2 separate regions of the Homo sapiens genome follow, and region 1 is linked to region 2. The links are contacts of gene promoters, found by promoter capture Hi-C in blood cells and fetal thymus (Javierre and others, 2016). All regions are on one chromosome and are shown on one strand. Each heading gives the region's core, a stretch centred on a gene start or on the middle of the fragment in contact. The rest is flanking DNA. Distances are from core to core; before and after follow the strand shown. Region 1 has its middle 36 kb from the start of RNF6. Region 2 holds the start of GTF3A (general transcription factor IIIA).

Region 1 (3,589 bases), core at 303-2,802, 1.2 Mb after region 2:
TTTTGACTACAGATTCACTGGTCTCAAGAGTCAGTTGCCCTTCCTCTGTGCCACAATTAAGTCCTTGTCTATGTCTGTCACAAGTGGGGTGGAGGATGGGGTAGAAGGGGAGGGATATTGTTATAATTGCCTCCCTTGCCACCATCAGCACTTCTCACCTGTCCTTGTGAACCACCAGTTTACACTTATAGAATCTAGTTTTGCATCAGCAATTGAGGTCACTTCGCCTTGGAGCCACTGCATCAATCTGAAAGTCTCCATGAGCCACAAGACAGTTGTGATGGTCTGGATGGCAGCCTGCAAATGAGCAGTTACACTCTCTAGAATTCCTAGACTATTAGGGCTGAAGGGACCTTGGATATTAACAGGTTCAAGTCCATTTCACCCAGATGATGAAACTGATGCCCAGACACCTACAGAATCTTGTTTTAGATCACTTGTTGACTTCTAGTTCTATTTTTTGACACCTAGTGTCCAGTGTGCTTTACACTTCAGGCCACTGTGGTCTCAAATAGAGCTAGGAACCAGGTGTGGTGGCACACGCCTGTAGTCCCAGCTAGTTGGGAGGCTGAGGCAGGAGGACTGCTTAAGCCCAACAGTTCAAGGCTGCAGTGAGCTAAGATTGCACCACTGCACTCCATCCTGGGCAACAGATAGAGACTGTCTTAAAAAACCCCCAAAATCAAATAGAGCTGGGGCTAAACATTTAATAAACTCCAGCCTCTGGAGTCCAAGAGATCTGCATTTGAATCCTGACTTTGCCACTGATTGGCAATAAGACCTTGGGTACGTTACTTAACCATTAACATACCCACTAAGTCACCCAATAAGCTTCCAGAACTTGGCCTAATCCCTGGGGAGGGGACCGCAGGAAGAACTAGGGTAATTTTTCTTTTATAACCAGTTCACCAGAGGGGGCCAGGGAAGGGTGGTCGTATGTAGCCCAGAGGAGTCAGAAATTCACCTGAAATCCAGAAAAGAGGCATTTTTCTTGCACACCAGAGCTCACGGGCTGACATTCTCACACTGGACATCCCAGTAAGCCTCCTGCTCCGCGATCCCCAAGGCCATCAGCCTTGCCTGACCTCCAAACGTTTCCCCCTTCTTGTGCCGGCTTAATTTTCCAGGGCTTTCCCCCTTTCTATTCGTCTCCTATCAGGTTCCCGGTCCGAAGGCTAGGACGCCCCACGTCGCAGCCAGGAGCAGAGGCGCCCAAGGTGGCGGTACAAGCCGTCTTCAGGCCTGTGGCCCCACTGATGGCAGAAACAGGAAGCGGGGACAGCCCCAGTCCCGGACCTCAGGCCAAGCAAGGCTCTAGAAAGGTCCCTGACGCTTGCCGGGCGCGGTGGCTCATGCCTGTAATCTCAGCACTTTGGGAGGCCGAGGTGGGTGGATCACGAAGTCAGGAGATCGAGACCATCCTGGCTAACACGGTGAAACCCCGTCTCTACTAAAAATACACAAAATTAGCCGGGCGTGGTGGCGGGCGCCTGTAGTCCCAGCTACTCGGGAGGCTGAGGCAGGAGAATGGCGTGAACCTGGGAGGCGGAAATTGCAGTGAGCCGAGATCGCGCCACTACACTCCAGCCTGGGCGACAGAACGAGACTCCGTCTCAAAAAAAGAAAAAAAAAAAAAGAAGAAGAAAGGTCCCTGACGCTTCCCTGCCCTCCCCGGAGCCGGCGCTCTAGCGCCCCCGGGATCGACGGTCAGCACAGCGAAGGAACGCGCTACCTGTGGCCGAAGGTATAGCGCCGCTGCGGGCCCTGTGAGAGCTGAGAAGACGACGGCGGCCGAGGAGGCCCAATTCCGAGGCTCGGCCCCGTCAGGGTCCGCGCTGGCGGTGTGCGCGTGTACGTGCGCTCGTGCACGTGCATGTGTGTGCGCGCGCCCTAACAGACCTGCTCCGAAGCGTCTCCGCTGACTGCCAGTCGGTAGCGCGACTGGCTGCGGGGCCCACGTGCCACGCAGACGCCCCCCGGCGCGTCCCGCTCTTGCTCTGCGGCCCAACGAGCGCGTTCCTGCCGCGGGACAGCCTTGCAGAGAAACGCGGTCTTACACACGCACTGGCCTCCCGGTCTGGGTTTTTAACTGCTCAAAGCTCCACGCGCCCTGGCGTCTCCACACGGCACTCCAGATGTGTCAGATTTCCAGAAATGTTTTGATCGCTTGCTTTCACTTCTCTTTTTAAGATCTGTTTTTGAACTTTTCCTCTGCGTTGTGTGTATCATGACTCTGACACGTTTTAGGGCCGCGAGGCGGGTGATGAAGCTTTGACATGGGCGCCTTGGTGAATGACCTGAATTCTTACTCCCGAGTAAATCGTCTGACTGGCTTCCCTATCGCATTTTAGGGTTAAAACATACATTTTGTGTTTGTTTCATATCTATGTTTATGTAGACTGCAAGTTTCATAAGGGCACGGGGTGGGAGGGGCTATGGCTCTTTTGCCTCTTACTGTATTTTCAGAACCTAGCAGAAGCTAGGACATAGTGTGTGTTCTCTAAATAGATATTGAATGTGAGGGAGGAAGGAACTTTCCAGAAGTGTGACCTTTGGTTTTGGAAAGGCACAAGGTTCGTAGTTAGGCGTAGAGAACACAAGTTTAGAATCATGGCCTCTACACTTCTGTTGACAATGCATTACTTTAAGTAACAACTTTTTTTTGAGACAGGGTTTCGCTCGTTTTGCCCAGGCTGGAGTGCAGTGGCACGATCTCGGCTCACTGCAACCTCCGCCTCCCGGGTTCAAGCGATTCTCCTGCCTCAGCCTCCCAAGTAGCTGTGATAACAGGCGCCTGCCACCACGCCAGGCTAATTTTTTGTATTTTTAGTAGAGACGGGGTTTCACCATGTTGGCCAGGATAGTCTCGATCTCTTGACCTCGTGATCCGCCCACCTCGGCCTCCCAAAGTGCTGGGATTACAGGCGTGAGCCACTGTGCCCAGCCAAGTAACAACTTTTTTTAAAAAAAATGCACTTCAAATGTATATGTATATGTATTTATTTATAAGTTATAAAAATGTAATGCATGCTCATATATATATTTATGTATTATTACAAAGAGCACACCAAATAGAAATTTTAAAAAGCTAAAATAAAAATAATACCTTGGTCGGGGATGATGGCTCATGCCTGTAACTCCAGCACTTTTGGAGGCCGAGGCGGTCAGATAGCTTGAGCCCATTAGTTCGAGACCAGCGTGGGCAGCATAGTGAGATCCCATCTGTACAAAAAATAATTTGAAAAAATTAGCCGGGCATGGTGGTGTGCGCCTGTTGTCCCAGCTGCTTGGGAGGCTGAGGTGGGAGAATGGCTTGATCCTGGGAAGTTGAGGCTGCAATGAACCGTGTTTGTGCCACTTCACTACAGCTTGGGGTGGCTGAGTGAAATCCTGTCTTAATAGTCAATCAATCAATCAATCAATAAAATGATAACAATACCTACAAGTTCTAAAATAATTTCCTGCAGCGCACTTTGGAGCTCACTAGGTAGACAGTTTGTAGGGAGAGGGCTGCCCTCTACTGGTGGAGGGCAGCTAAGGACATTTGCTTTGGATCGCCTGCCTTCTGCAGGAGTCCACAGATTTATCC
Region 2 (3,196 bases), core at 697-3,196:
CACCCTAAATGCAACCACCTTTTGTAACCCAGGAGTTGGGAGGGGGTGACTCATTTTGAACCTATAGTAAAAGCCAAACACACACCCCAAATAACCAAATAACCAGTTTGGTGCATCAAACTATGAAAAGCATACTACCAAGGCGTCCAGGAGGGAGGCACCGAGGCCTCCATGAGAGTACTAGGAGCAAAACAAGCAAACAGGAACACAGTGAGCTACATACCACCAGGGGCGGAGCCACAGAACCTTGCACAGCGGCAGGCGTGGAGTAGGCTCAATAAACATTTGTCAAATTAATCTGCATGAGAGATCTGGGACAACAAAGATGACTCCAAGTTTTTCAACCTGTATTAAGGAAACTGGTAGCGCCAGTATCCAAAATACAGCACACCGGTCTAAAAGGAAAGGCAAGCTCTTACGTGGATCTACTGGTAATACAGAGCCCAGAATTTAGAGGCTAGAACGGGCAAGAGGAAGGGCAGAGGGGCAAAGCATAAAGGATGTTATGAGTCATGCCGGTGGCTATGTAAGACCGCAAGAGGGAGCTGGGCGGGGTGGAACATGCAGAGGGCAGAAGAGGATCCAACGAAAAGGGCAGACGAGGAAGAGGAAAAGAACCAGAGAAGGTCTCAAGGAAGAAGCGGTCGGCCTTCCAGTGCTGGAGAGGTTAAGGAATGAGGCCCCGGAGGACACCTGGAGAAGGTGGCCCATAAATTAGAGGAGGTGCAAGGGGCAAAGGTATGGACTGCAGCCCAGTGGTTTAAGAAATTAAGGGCTTTAAGCTGAGGCAGTGTGAAGCCTAGCTCTGCCAAAAACTGGGAAGCTGGGCAGATTCCTTGACCTCCATGACCCTCGTTTTCCTCACTTGTGTGTGACATGGGCTGCCACGTCATATCATGGTATCTGACATTCTCCTGCCCTCAAAATAAAATCCAAACTCCTAATGGGCCTACTTCTCAGACCTCATATGGTGATCTCCGCACCCAAACACACCCACCTGCCTCCCACCCCAAGGGTCACAGGCTCCCTTTGTGTTCTCTCTACCTAGCACAAATGTCTGCATGGCTAGATCCTTCCTTCTTACACGGCTCACACAGAGAGGCCTTTCCTGACCACAACACTGCATGTCATTCCCACCTATCCTGTGGTCGGCTCGACCCAGGAACAAAGGTCCATGGCAGCAGAAACCTTGGGTTTGCCTGTTTTGCTCACTGCTCTCTCCAGTGTGGAGTTACGAAGAAATGAGCACATGCTGCTTTCACGACCCCTGGTACATGTAACCCATCTTCTGTACCAGCTCCAGGGGCCAGTGTTTGGCAGGTGTCTAGTAGCGGTGGGCCCCCTCAAACCTCACACTTATTTGCAGATTACGGGAGGCACTTGGCTGGCCGAGACTCACGATCAATGACTGCTTAGTAAATCCCGAGCCCCTGCCATGGATATCAAGGTCGCAGAACGAAGGTCCTACAACTTCCTGTCTACTTCCTCAGCTCCTTCCCCAAGTCCTGGATGTCAAAGCTGAACGCGCTGCACAGCGGGGCCTGCGGCCCTGGCCACGACTGCAGTGGCTACCCCGGGGCCACGCGCCATCCCTAGGCCCAGGGTTGGCAGCCTCGCCCCCCTCACCTCCCCCGTGTGCTTGCACAGGTGCGCGTCAAGCTTCCAGGCTTTGCTGTAATTGGCGCTGCAGTCAGGGAAGGAGCAGATGAACCTCCTGGGAAGCGCGGGGCGCGGCGGGGTCGGAGCTGAGCTCTCGCCGGCTGCAATGAACGCGTCGGCGATGGTCAAGGACGACACCGACTCGGCGACCACGGCCGGCGGATCCAGGGCGCCGGCGCCTCCAAGCCCAGGGCCAGGCGCGCTGCCACGTGCCGAGACACGTGCCGGGAACCGGCGCGCCCGGCCCACGGCTCCCTGCTGAACCTTCGCGCGACGCCGGCACACTTCCGGGAGCGCGCGCGGTCACCAGGCACCGCCCCGCGTCGGCGCCGCTGCTGCGCATGCTCCGGGAGATCGCGCATGCGCCAGGAGGCCCCGCCGCGGCTCGCGGCCCGTGCCCTGTCAGCCCTGGATGAGAGGCGGGGGTTTCTGCGTCCTCGGCAGAAGGCTGCTGCGTTTCACAGGCAACTCAAATCCCGAGGCACTGCTTAAATGGGGCTTGTTTCCCGTCCTCCAGTACACTCTGGAAAGCACTAGCCTTACATAATTTAAGTTAGCCTGTTGCCACATTACTAGTGTGACCTGTGTGGTTTCGTTTCTTTGCGTGCTTTACGTGCTTCTGCTGCAAGCCCCAGTTCAGAGGTTCCTAAGCTCAGATTCACGTGGAGAGCTTTACAAAATCCCGAAGCCTAGAGGATACTTGGACCACTTAAATCACAATTTCTGGGGGTAGGAAACAGGCATCAGTATTTTTGGAAACTTCCTAGGTGATTTCAATGCGCAGAAAAGTTTGGGAACCACTATCCTGGCACAGTAGTGCGCACCTGTAGTCCCAGGTACGCGGGCGAATCGCTTGAGCCCAGAGTGAGACCCCGAGCTCTAAAAGAATAAATACAGATGTCTCCCCATCCTACCCTTCCCCACCCCGGCAAACTGACCAGGTGGTTGGAAAAAAAAAAAAAAAAAAAGGAAAAGTTTGGGAACACTGCCCTAGAGCCTTGATGACCTACTTGAAACAAATCTCCAGGTGATTCAGTGCATATCAAAACCTGAGAAGCACTTTTGAGAGGCCTGAATGAATATGAGTATCTTAGTTTATGAGGACCACATGCCTAAAAAATGTCCTTGGATACAGATAACTGGCAGGATGACTTGGGGGATGTTCGCCAGATCCATATTTTTCACATCCTGCATTATTCCGAATCATTAAGCCCTTGTCGGAATGTGATGAACAGGTCCCTGCACAGCAGTGCAGTTCTGGAAACAAGCCAGGGCTTAACATCAGTGCTTATGAACTGAGTATTCCAGTTCATAAACACTCCTTTGCCTCAGTCTGCTCATCTTGAAAGTGGGAAAGTTGATAACGCCTGTGTCATCCTCCGTCTCAAGATAACGGGGCTGTGAGAGTGTCTATGCCTTGGGTCCACCTGTTGCTTTCTTCATTTGCCACTCTAGCCCCTGTCCATGGATGGGAGAATTCTACACTCATCCCTCCCACAACTCCGGAATTCTAAAATGGTTTCTCTTGCGCCAGTTC

The links. Contacts are between HindIII fragments. The CHiCAGO score rates a contact against its expected background, and 5 or more counts as called.
Region 1: a contact is called between a fragment that was not itself captured here and the fragment with the promoter of GTF3A in region 2, in 1 of 17 cell types (activated CD4 T cells). The highest score is 5.2, in activated CD4 T cells.

Annotation. Positions count from the first base shown.
Region 1 is chr13:26,184,822-26,188,410 of GRCh38, reverse strand. It overlaps a transcript of RNF6 not described here. Among named protein-coding and RNA genes, the nearest start is that of RNF6, 36 kb to the left of the region's middle. RefSeq lists enhancers at 1,997-2,046, 2,097-2,266. The HindIII fragment of the contact is 1,438 bases long and covers 834-2,271 here.
Region 2 is chr13:27,423,369-27,426,564 of GRCh38, reverse strand. It overlaps GTF3A (general transcription factor IIIA), which reads right to left and starts at 1,946. Exons shown (of 9, transcript NM_002097.3): 1 at 1,627-1,946. The coding sequence starts at 1,827. RefSeq lists enhancers at 272-491, 1,442-1,511 and silencers at 1,602-1,681, 1,782-1,841, 1,852-2,121. The HindIII fragment of the contact is 2,756 bases long and covers 1,662-3,196 here.